Regions from separate parts of the Homo sapiens genome. Here region 2 is linked to region 1. Evidence: promoter capture Hi-C in human tissues and cell types (Jung and others, 2019). All regions are on one chromosome and are shown on one strand. Each heading gives the region's core, a stretch centred on a gene start or on the middle of the fragment in contact. The rest is flanking DNA. Distances are from core to core; before and after follow the strand shown. Region 1 holds the start of GP9 (glycoprotein IX platelet). Region 2 overlaps CFAP92 (cilia and flagella associated protein 92 (putative)).

Region 1 (6,256 bases), core at 3,757-6,256:
TAGCTGGGATTACAGGCGCGTGACACCACGCCCAGCTAAATTTTGTATTTTTAGTAGAGAGACAGTTTCATCATGTTGGCCAGGCTGGTCTTGAACTCCTGGCCTCAAGTGATCCGCCCACCTCGGCCTCCCAAAGTGCTGGGATTACAGGCGTGAGCCATCACGCCTGGCTGTCAGGCCCCCCTTTCTTCCCTGACAGTGTGCCAGTGGCCCCTGCCCATGATGACTTCCACAGTGCCTGCTGTGGCCAGACCCCCAGCAAAGCACCTGTCAGGCTTATCTCACTCTTTCCTCACAGCAGTCTGGGAGGTGGGGTCTTTGATTTTCCCCATTCTGCAGATGAGGAAACTGAGGCAGAGATAGGCTAAGACTATTGCCCAAGGTCACAGAGCAAGTAAGTAGCAAAACCAGGTTTCAGAGCAAGGCAGGCTGCTCCACAGGCTGGCTCAGAACAGCCGGGGTGACGGAGACCTGCATCTGCAAAGATCCAGCAAGCAGAGGCTCTGTTCCAAGGGGGTCCAACAGTGGCAGACAGGGTTACCCATTTCCTGTTGGTTGCACACAGGCTAAAAATGCTACCTAATAATCACTGCCTCTTAATCCCCTCTGCTTCCCATGAGAAGGAAAAATTGTCTTGGGGGATATTGAAAGATCCCAGCCTCCAAAGTAAGTTTACCTAAGCAGTTTGCCTCATAATACGATTACCAAACAGAGGCTGTTTCCTTCAGCTCAGGGGACAAGAAAGGAGTGGCTGTCTCCCTCATGTTTCTCGTTATTTGTGTCATAGGCATGTATCACCTGAAATTGCCTGAGAGGCTCAACCAACTTTTAGTCACAAGATCTGCGAACACTTCCCTAGTGGGTGCTGAGGTTCTCCAAGGAGCTGCTGGGCCCATTTGCAAACAGATAAGCAAACGGCTGGGTGAGTGCGTCGAGGAGGGCTTCCCGTAAGAAGTTATGCCCCCGGTGAATCTTAAAGGATGCAGCATGCCAGGCAAAATTCCACAGGGCTCCAGAAAGAGGGCAGTGCAGAGGCAAAAGCACAGACAGAAGTTGGCATGTGGGTGGGGAGTGAGGGACATGGCTAGCCTACCACGAAGCTTCAGATCAGGAAGAGATGAGAGGTGAGGCTGGACAGGGTGGCAGAGGGTGTCCTGAAGACAGCAGGGAGCCATGAAAGACATGGAGCAGGAGTGTAGTGAGATTAAACCTGTATAGTAGAGGCAGAGGCCAGCATCAAGGAGACAGCAGTCCTGGCAAGACACAGATAAGGCCAGCACTAGAGAAGAGACAGCCAGCAAGGCTGACAAGTATGTATTAGATAATGCCCATGGGCCAGGCAGAGGTGCTGGGGAGGGAAGAGTTAATGGGACAGAGTCTCTGCCCTCTTGAGTTTCACATCAATGGGAGGAGACATTTAATAAACACATAAAAATGTAAAAATAAGATCATTTCAGATCCTGATCAATGCTAAGGAAGATATGAAATGGAATATTATGGTACAGAAGGATGGAGCTGTGCCTTGGCAAGGGAGGCCTTTGAGGAGGGGTCATCTGAATTGAGATGAGAATGATGATCAGGAGGAAGCCATGTGGGGCTCTGGGGGAAGGGCACTCCAGGCAGAGGGAACAGCAAGTGCAAAGGCCCTGAGGCAGGAAAGTGCTGGAGTGTTTGAGCAACAGGAAGAAAATTGGTGTGGCTGGACATTGATGAGCAAAGTAGACAGTGGGTGATGGGGTCAAGAAATAGGCAGGGGCCAAGCTACAGGGGGGCCTGTAGCTTCCTGACCACAGGGGCACGGGTTTTCTTTTATTTGCGATGGGAAGCCAAGAAGGCGAACGAAGACCAGAGCAGTAGCAGCACAGGGAGAAGTGGTTAAGTTCTGAATAGATCCTGGTGACTGAAATGACAGGAATTACTGATGGGTTGGACAGCAAGTAGAAGTGACTCTTCAGAGGAGTTTTATGGAAGAGAGAAGCAGAAAAATCAGATGGTAATTGGAGAAAGAGGTGGAATTAAGGAAGGATTTTTCAAAAGGGCAGGATTATAGGTTGCTTCTTTTTTTTTTTTTTTTTTTTGAGACGGAGTTTTGCTCTTGTTGCTCAGCCTGGAGTGCAATGGCGCGATCTCAGCTCACCACAGCCTCCGCTTCCTGGGTTCAAGTGATTCTCTTGCCTCAGCCTCCCAAGTAGCTGGGATTACAGGCATACACCACCACGCCCAGCTAATTTTGTATTTTTAGTAGAGATGGTGTTTCTCCATGTTGGTCAGGCTGGTCTCGAAACCCACTTTAGGCAGACCTAAAGTGATCTGCCTGCCTCAGCCTCCCAAAGTGCTGGGATTGCAGGCGTGAGCCACCGCGCCTGGTCTGGCTGCTCCTAACCTGATGGAATGACCCAGTGAAGGAGAAATTGATCATGCAGAGGAAGGGGCACCTGATGGGGCAATGTCCTGGAAGGATGGAGAGGGGACAACTCACAGCACAAGAGTGGGGCTTGGCCTTCGCCTTGGTTCCTATTGCTGCTGTCACAAGAGGCTTAATGCAGCACACATTTATTTTCTCATTCTTCATCACACAGCTCCTGTGGGTTCTCTTATTCCAGCCCTCCTGAGGTAGATCAGCAGGACCTGTTTTCTGAGCACCTGTCAGGACCCCCGGTCCCCAGCCTGCTGATGGCAGCAGGATCTGGTTGAAACAAGGTGTAGTGAAGAAGCTGGCAGACACCAGAAACCAGCAGATGGGAACGAAAGCAACCGCTAGTTGCCCTCACTGCTCACTAACATAGACACTCCCCCTGGCACCATGGTAGTTTACAAATGCCATGGCAGCACGCCATGGCAACAACCTGAAAGTTACAGGGTTCTGGAAACTCACCACCCCTTTTCTAGAAAGTTTGAAATAACCTGCCCCTGAATTTGCATGTAATGAATAGTGGCTGTAAGTGCAGTTGCCAAAAGCCCACACACTACTGCTCTGGGCACACTGCCTGTGGGGTAGCCCTGCTCCCAGAGAGCAGCACCTCTGCTATGCACTGCTGCTTCAATAAAGCGGCTTTCTTCACCACTGGCTCTTTGACTTCTTTCCTGGCCAAAGCCAAGAGCCCTCAGGGGCAAAGCCCTGATTTGGGGGCTCACCTGCCCTGCATCACTTGTAGGTGGAAATCAAGCTGCTGGCAGGGCTGCATTCCTCTCTGGAGGCTCTGGGAGAATCCACTTGCAGGCTCACCCAGGCTGTTTACAGATCCACTTCCTGCATTATCCTGTGCCTCTTGGGCAGATGGGTATGTATTTACCCATATGGGTAAATACACATGGGGAAAAAGCCTTGCCTGATGTTGGGATGGAGGGAAATTTTTATTTTCTTCTTCCAGTTCATCTGAACATTCTAATTTCCCACAACAAAAATCATTTATTTGTTATTTATGTAGTTTTTTAAATTCACAAAACCCATCTATGTTGATCTAGTTTTTTGTTTTAAGTTGTACATGCTGAAAATAAGGAAATCTCAGAGGCTCAAGAGGAAGGAGGGCACAGGCCCCACCAGATCTGGTCACAACACCTGGCCTGGCAGCTCCAGCACCCCCACTCACTCCAGAACCCCTTACCCACCTGCGTGGGGCTCACTGGTGAATGTGTGCAGGGCAGAGGAGGTGGAACATGCCAAGGCTCCATGGGGAGGGAGGGAAGGGCCAGACAGGCTGAGGCTCCTCTCCATGGTCCAGGCTCCGGTCAGAGTCCCCACTGAGCACATACCAGGGGACCCCCAGCAGCAACCAGGCCCCCGAGCAGGTGTGACATCAGTGGGGGAACAGCACCTTCCCCACCCTTCTCTGAGCCCAGCATCAGTGGGTGGAGGAAGCAGAGCTGGGGCCTGGCAGCCTCTCAGGGCCTCCTAGGAGGGTGAACACCCAAATCCTGCCCTACCCAAATCCAGAACCAGGAGGCGGGGAGAGAACAGGCGGCCTCCCAAGGAAGGACTCACCCTGCTTGGCCATGCAGGAGGAGGAAGGCTGGCCTGAGAAGGATGTGAGACCAAAATAAGAACAAGCACACCCCCACCCCCGTAGGGCCGAGGAATATTCCCGAGGGTCCTGAATGTCAACGAAGTGCGTTTAAAGCCTCCGTCAGCCTTCTGTCTTTGGCTTTTCCTGCCAGGCTTCTGTAACTTCTGTGTTTTTACCCTGTTTTATTTATTTTTTAAGACGGAGTCTCGCTCTGTCACCCAGGCTGGAGTGCAATGGCACGGTCTCGGCTCACTGCCACCTCTGCCTCCTGGGTTCAAGCAATTCTCCATCCCAAAATATATTTATCTTTTAAAGGAAGCTTTATGTCACTAACATAAATGGAAAATGGTGTCCCTCCCCTAAGTAGAATGTGCTCTAGAAGAAAATGTACTGCAAATGTTAAAACCATAGGCCAAAATTCTAGCTAGAGATTCACACTTGGTAGAGGCTCTGCTTCCCAGGCCTACAGCTGTTTGTTAGAAAGAGGCATGGAGAAGCACTAGGCAGGAGCTAAAAACACCATGGCACCAAGAAGAGACTCCGTCCTTGAGTATACAGGAGGAGGGAGGAGAGTTAAAAATGAAGTCACTCTCCCCACCATGGTGTTCTCAGCCAGTGGGAGCTGCCCAGCCCACACCTCTGTGAGGCAGGCAGGACCGGTCACTGCTCCCACTTTACAGATGAGGAAAACTGAGATTCGGAGGAACAACCAGCAGAGCCACGTTTCTCAGGGGTCTCCTAGTTCCCACCTTCTGGGAGCAGGTGAGGGGCCACCCTCAGTCCTCCACAGACCTGATTCCAAAGCCCATCAAGGCACTGGCGGCACAGTGGGACCCCCTTCTATAAACCGGGGTTGAGATGTGGTTCTGTGCCCAAGGCGCGGGCCCCTGAGGGCCTCCTGCCTCTGGAAATAGGCCCCAAGGCTGCACTGGGGGGATAAGCCAGGCTATTTTCATCACTTCCTTCCGCCCGCTCCCGCAGCGGCCACCTCAGCTGTATCCCATAGAGTTGCCACCCAGGCCTCAGCCAGGACCTTTCAGGCCAGACAGGAGCACCTGACCAAAGGCTTCACAGGTAAGTGGCCCTCCGTATTACCCAGCATGGCCTCCCACAGGGAGAGAGGAGGTCAGTTCCTGTCCCTTTAACAAGACAGGGTTGGGTGGGACATTCCCTCTGAGACACCATCTCCTTGGCTGAGTCAAGATGAGTGAGTTGATTTGACACTTATTCACTGGAAACCTGCTGTGGGTAGGGGGAGCTCTGCTGGTGGAGGGGAAACGCCTGTGGGGAAGAACCAAACAGAGGGCCACGGTTGCCGAGACCCGAGTGTGAGTCTGGCCTCTGACACCACACCGGTGGCCCTGGGCACATTGCTTTCCCTCTCTGGGCCTCAGTTTCCCCAAGTCAGTGTTAGCCCAGATGAGTGGTTTTCCAGATGGGGTCCCACTGAGTTCCCCTCCCTGCTCCAGCCAGTGTCCCTGTCCTGCTGTCTTCTGCATCTGGGAATCAGGTAACAGCTCACTTAGCTGGTGGGGGGTGCTGGGCGCAGCCTGCAGGGCCCTCCAAGGCTCTTTCCTAGTCTCTGGGGACTGTGGTCCTGGGCTGGGACTCATTTAGCAGCCATCTGCTCCTCTCATCCCCAAGCAGGGGATGGGGTCTCTGCTAAGGGCCAGGAAGTCCCTTCCCCTTCCCAAAAACAAACTTACCCAATCCACAGCCGCCCTCACCGCCCGGCCTTCTACGGTGTCCAGAGACAGTTAGCCAGGCCTGGGCTGGGCACACTCCACCTTCCCTAGTCACCAGCTGGTTTCCCAGAGGAGAAGGCTGAGACCCGAGAAGGGAGGTGAGTGCACCCCGTCCCATGTCAGGCTCCGCTACATCCCCAGTGCTTGCCGTCCCTGAGGATCGGTCCAGGCTGCCAGGCCCTCCCTCACAGCCCCTCTCTCTGCAGCCAGCCTGTCCCATGCCTGCCTGGGGAGCCCTGTTCCTGCTCTGGGCCACAGCAGAGGCCACCAAGGACTGCCCCAGCCCATGTACCTGCCGCGCCCTGGAAACCATGGGGCTGTGGGTGGACTGCAGGGGCCACGGACTCACGGCCCTGCCTGCCCTGCCGGCCCGCACCCGCCACCTTCTGCTGGCCAACAACAGCCTTCAGTCCGTGCCCCCGGGAGCCTTTGACCACCTGCCCCAGCTGCAGACCCTCGATGTGACGCAGAACCCCTGGCACTGTGACTGCAGCCTCACCTATCTGC
Region 2 (6,256 bases), core at 947-3,446, 140 kb before region 1:
TCCCTGTGGACCTCATTCAGCTCTTTGATGGGTGGCAGCTTGAGATCCTGAAAGCTGCTTTCGGTGTCGCTCTGAAGACCTGTCACTTGGAATCCCCTGGCTGTGAGCCAGGCCTGGCGGGATTTCTTCTGGGCTTTCTTCTCCTCTTCCTTCAAGTCCAGGGGCTCCACCATGGCTGAGAGGTAATCCTGTGAGTACGTGAATCTCTTTCTTGGCTCCTAGAAATGGGGGCAGACAGGTTGGGGTGGAAGGGCTAATAGCAATCTTGGATTTATTTCCAAGTAGGAATCAGAAACAGCTGGGGGCATAATCATAGTTCCTGACAATGTAAATAGTGCATTGAGAGGAAATGACTGTGCAGTAGCCCTGTAAGGGACATATTATTGTCCCCTTTGATGGGAGAAGCCGTTTCCTAAAGTTAATATGTGCTGGAAGCCTAAACCATGGCTTTCCCTTCTGTTGGTAGCTGCCTTGATAAGCAGCAATCATAAAGTGTTCCCCAGAGGTAAGGATGCTACAGTTGTTCTCCTTTATGTACATCTGAGCTTACATTGAGGATCTTGGGCTTACCCTCAGGTGTGGAGGATTCACATTTAGTGTGGAACAGAACACCTCTCAACATCTGAGCCTTGTCTACTTCCCCTAGCTGATTGGCTTTCATCTGTATAGTTGAGATCCCCCACTGACCTCCAGGCAGGCATGGTCAGAATAAAGAACTCATGGGATTTGCCAACTGCCATCATCCTGTCTGGGTCTCTCACCTTGGCTATCTCTTGATACAGCTCCTTCTTGGCAAGCTCTGTAGAATTCATGGTCTGGGTACTATAGTTGTAGACGGCCTTGTTGGCAGGGGCTGAAATTTTAATCACCTTCGCCACGGACTTCGGAGGCTTCTTGCTGACCTGGTAGGCTTCTGTGATATTTTTCTGAAGAAAGAGACACCAGTCACTACCCACACCAGGTCATCCTCACCCCCCATGCCAGCTCATATGCAGTGAGATGATCTCTGGGACTTAGCTGTGGTGCAGGTATTGATTGATTCTTCAATACTGGTGCTGTTATTTCATCATAGAACCAGGGCAAAGGGCCAACTAGTCCAACCTCTCACTATCCAAAATGGAATTTAAGAGGACCAAAAAATTGAGACCCCTAAGGTCACTGTAACTGGAACACACATCATCTGGCCACTCATCTCCCAACCACCTTGTGATAAAGACAGAATTTGTGTCTCACATGGTCAGAAGTAGGAGAGTGTGGACAGGGGATATTACAACCTAAAGCAGCAAGGACTGCCATCCTTGACCATGGTTAACTGTCAAGTGTGCATAAGGATTATGACCCTCATTCTGTCCAGCAGGCCCAGTAAGGAAATGGGAACTCTTCCCTGAACAGAGAGAAATAAGATGGTCTGTTGGCTTCCTTTGTGAATGAAAATAGAAATGTGGAAGGAGATAAAAGACAACACAGAAGGCTGGGGGGAAAGGTGGCTGGGACCCAAAACAAGGGAGAACTGGGAAAGTTACCACTCTAAATTGTTGGGCACTGTGCAGTGTTTCATATGCATATTTCACAGTAACCTTCAGCAAAATACCATCTTTTACCTTTAAAAAATTTTTTAGCACAAGATGGTGACCTTAGCTCAACTACAGTGGCTTGACTTTGGAATCTTTGAGGAATTAATGCACAAGAATTTAAAATAATCAGGGGAGGACAAAATTTGTGATTCACACACATGAAAGAACAGACTGTCCAGGCAACAAGGGATGCAAGGTAAAGGCAAGTCTAGGTCCTCAGACTTTGGAGCACCTGCGAGAAGATTATACTAGGGATGCCACATAGAGCAAGGATCCTGTCATGGCCCACATGGAACTTCAATCAATATTTCTTGATGTGTCCAGTTTTTCTAGTTGTCCTTAGTGGGGGAGTTGATCTGAGTTTCTCAGTTAGCCATTCCTAGAAGTCCCCTGCTCCTTCCAAATCCTAGAATTCGTGAATTACAACCTAGGGGGACAGATTCTTCTTTCCATGCTACTCCTTTCTTACAATTTGAAGTTGAAATTCTGACCTAATGCTTATTACAGGGAAAGCAAACTGTTCCGTAGTTCTTCTGGGTGCCTGAGATTCTCTGCTGAGGGGTGACACCTGCAGGAGAATTTGGACTCAGAGCAAAAGTAACTAGATGCTGGAGAAGTAAATACAGTATTTAAAAAAGGCCACAGACTGAACAACTGAAGCTAAATTATTGGAAAAGATGGGCTAAGAATTTAACATAAGAAATTGTTTTAAAATAAGAGTGAAGATAGCAATATGAAGCAGAAGTAAAACTAAAAGAAAAAGTATTGAGTATGAAAATAGTTGAAATAGAAGACAAGAGAATGAGATATATTGCAGAAGTGATACTGTTGTAGAACGAATGAATGAACTGGAATATCCACTTGAGATATGCTTTCAGAAAGCAGTCCTGTATAAAAAAGATAAAATTAGAAACTGAGTATAGAGGATGGAAATAACATCCAAATAACAGAAATCCCAAAAGGAGGGGAAAAGTGAGAACAAGAAAATTTGAAGCAATAATGAATGTCAGAAAAGACAAAACTTCCAAGCCTGGGTACACTATTATTAGTGGGATTTAAGCAAACAAATACAAAGATAAACTCTCAAAGCTTCTAGAGGAAAAGAGCAGGCCACCTGTAAAGAAAAACTATCACTTGTGATCAGATCCACAACAGCAACAAGGTAAGTTAACTTCAACCTACAATTTCATATCCAAGCAAACTAATTGTGAGGGCTTAGGTTTAAAGGCCTTAGGTTTTACATAAAACCCTCCTTTAAAAACTCTTGGGGCCAGATGTGGTGGCTCATGCCTGTAATCCCAGTACTTTGGGAAGCCTAGGCAGGCAGATCATCTGAGGTCAGAAGTTCAAGACCAGCTTGGCCAACATACAGTGAAACCCTTTCCATACTAAAAAATACAAAAATTAGCTGGGCATGGTGGCACACGCCTGTAGTCCCAGCCACTTGGGAAGCTGAGGCAGGAGAATCGCTTGAATCCAGGAGGCAGAGGTTGCATTGAGCCGAGATCATGCCACTCTACTCCAGCCTGGGTGACAGAGCCAGACTCCGTCTCAAAAAAACAAAACAAAAGTCACAAAACTCTTTGGAGAAATTCAAAATGGAGGAGGAACATGCAGGAGGATTCAAGGTTAGCAAGTAATGTCCGATAGCCTAGTAAAGTTGTCTTAAAAGGACTAGGAAAATAAAATTTCAGAGCCTGGAATTGAAATTCTAGAGACTATAAAAGGGATGGTGGAGTGTGGGTAGGAGATGAGATAAAAGGGATGTAAATGTACAATTTGTCTTATAAAGAGAATATAGTTTTATGAGTTTAATGTTCAGTAGGAATGCCTAACCATATGGTCTTCAGGATAACCACCTTAAAAAGAAAGATAGAATGTATAACTTAAGTCCACAGAAGAAAACTTGATCTATCCAAGGAACACAGGAACGGAGGGTTTAAAAGTAGATTAGGTGGCAAAAATGCCTAACCTAACAGTAATTAATGTTAAGCTTGCCAATTAAAGAATCTCAGATTGGATTTTTTTTTTTTTTTTTTTTTTTTGAGACAGAGTTTTGCTCTTGTTGCCCAGGTTGGAGTGGAATGGCGCGATCTTGGCTTACTACAACCTCCGCCTCCCGAGATGAAGTGATTCTCCTGCCTCAGCCTCCCAAGTAGCTGGGATTACAGGCGTGTGCCACCACGCCTGGCTAATTTTGTATTTTTAGTAGAGACAGGGTTTCACCATGTTCAGGCTGGTCTCGAACGCCAGACTTCAAGCGATCCACCCACTTCAGCTTCCCAAAGTGTTGGGATTACAGGCGTGAGCCACTGCACCCAGCCTGGATTTTTTTTTCAAGCTAACAATATGCTATCTACAAAACTTTCAACACAAAGATACAGGTTTGACAACTAAAGGGAGACAGCATATACACTAGGCAAAAAGGCATGAGAAAACAAAGACAAAAAAGCTGTGTGGCATTCTTAATATCTGCTGAAACAATTCAAGTTAAAAATCTATCAAAAGGGGCAAAAGGATATTGTATATTGAGGACAACAAAAAGGGATAACTTGTAAATATATATGCACCTAGCAATATAGTCTCAAAATATATTAAGAAACAACTGACAGGATTACAAGAAGAAATAGACATCTATCTAACATCACTGGAGAACAACCAAGGCAACCAGGATTTGAGAGTCCAAGAATCTGGAGAAAAGGGAAATAATGGTGGTTCCATTTTCTTTTTGCAGTTTTCTCTCAAGGGATTTACTGACTCCTAATTTGCACATGGATAAGGCAGAAATAAGAACATAAGCAGAAAAAGAAGCTTAAGAAGTTTAGAAGCTAAGGAGGTATTTTGGAAAATGCTGCATTGCTAGAGAAACAAAATTGGATTTCAAAATTGGAAATTGTGCCAAGGAGGAAGGGCCCTGGTACCTCTAGGCCTCCAGTTTAGAATTCAGAAAATCTGCTTTAGGAGTAAGGGCAAGCCTGACTCTGATTAAGGAGATTTATCTGTCCTCTGTCTCCTGCTTTATCATCTCTGGAATAAGACATCAAGAGTCTCTATAGTTTTCAATACCCTCTTTACCATTTAACAAAAAATAACAGACATGCCAGGTAACAGGATGAAAAGATGGAAACCAAGAAAAAAGACAATAGAAACAGACCCCAGGTAATCCAGATATTGGAAGTATCAGACAAGAACATTAAAACTAGTCTGGACATGGTGGCTCATGCCTGTAATCACAGCACTTTGGGAGGCTGAGGTGGGTGAATCACCTGAGGTGAGGAGTTAGAGACCAGCCTAACCAACATGGTGAAACCCTGTTTCTACTAATATACAAAAATTAGCTGGGTGTGGCAGTAGGTGCCTGTAATCTCAGCTATTCAGAAGGCTGAGGCAGGGAGAATTGCTTGAACCCAGGAGGCGGAGTTTGCAGTGAGCCAAGATAGTGCTACTGCACTCTAGCCTGGGCCACAGAGCAAGACTCCATCTCAAGAAAAAAAAATTAAAATAATTATGATTAATCAAAATAAATGAAAATGAGAATTTCACCAGACACCTGGAACCTATAGAAAAAATAAATGGAAATCATAGAATTGAAGAAATCATCATTAAAGTTACAATCCAGTGGATGGGTTTAATTGCAGCTTGGACACAGTGTTGGGGAAAAGCTGAGTGTTGGGAAAAAGGCTGAGGCAGGGCTTGCATGTCTGACGTAACGTAAAAGAGTCTTGGAACATGTCCGGCGTCCAGGGTCTAAAACCCCTTGTGGCCTTTGGAACACCAAGCTCTGTTCCAAAGGGTGGAAGGCTGCCCTGCCGCACTACAATCTAAGCCCAGGGCACAAGCCACAAGGGCGTGGCTTGGACGGAATCCAGGGAACAGCGCATAAAACCCCTCGTGGCCTCTGGAATGTGTCTCGACTTGTTGGCTCCTTGCTTCTAGCACTCCAAGGCTCATAGATCGATTGTGTCTTAAACTAGAAGAATACGTTTCCCATTATCTCAAGTAGCAGAACATGTTCCATATGCTTCAAAGAAAATTCTAAACCATCACAGCTGTAGATCATGCACTTGATACACTGCTTTCTTTCAACCCCCACATCCTCACCACCTGCTTCTTTGATCACCAATAAATAGTGTGGGCTTCCAGAGCTCGGGGCCTTCACAGCCTCCATACTAGTGTTGGCCCCCTGGTCCCACTTTATGCACTCTTGTCTCATCTGTTTGACTCTGCCGGACTTCATAGTCCCCACAGCCTGGAGTTGGGTCTGATCACCCCAACATTCCTGGCGCCCAATATGAGGCAACGAACACCCCAGTGAAGGAACACTAGAGTGTGTGAAAGAGGATGCATCATCAGAGGACACCCGAGGACGACTGAAAGAAGCTCAGCAGGAAAGCTGAGCACTCGGAAGGACCAGGGTAACAATGGCACAAAGTGAAAGCAAACATTCTGCTCAGGATGTTTTAATACAGCTTCTTACATACAATAATGCTAATGCAGTGTCAAACTGCTATTAGACCCCTGACAGGGAAGGTTCAGTTAGCTGAATGTATTAAGGCTTGCGATGGCATTGGAGGTAACTTACATAAGGCTAATCTTTTAGCTCAGGCTATGGCTGGATTGAAAGTAGGAAAGAATATGCCCCATTTCTTGGGCCATTGTTTCAATTGTGGGCAATTTGGACA

What was found. The method cuts DNA at HindIII sites, captures the fragments that hold promoters and counts their contacts. A contact is called where the count stands out against the background at its distance.
Region 2: a contact is called between a fragment that was not itself captured here and the fragment with the promoter of GP9 in region 1, in 2 of the 25 tissues and cell types used here (H1 embryonic stem cells and spleen).

Annotation. Positions count from the first base shown.
Region 1 is chr3:129,055,773-129,062,028 of GRCh38, forward strand. GP9 (glycoprotein IX platelet) reads left to right here and starts at 5,007. Exons shown (of 3, transcript NM_000174.5): 1 at 5,007-5,078; 2 at 5,722-5,847; 3 at 5,956-6,256. The coding sequence starts at 5,968. The HindIII fragment of the contact is 8,053 bases long and covers 2,712-6,256 here.
Region 2 is chr3:128,915,346-128,921,601 of GRCh38, forward strand. It overlaps CFAP92 (cilia and flagella associated protein 92 (putative)), which reads right to left. Exons shown (of 16, transcript NM_001394090.1): 13 at 762-926; 14 at 12-218. Among named protein-coding and RNA genes, the nearest start is that of ACAD9, 39 kb to the left of the region's middle. The HindIII fragment of the contact is 3,559 bases long and covers 418-3,976 here.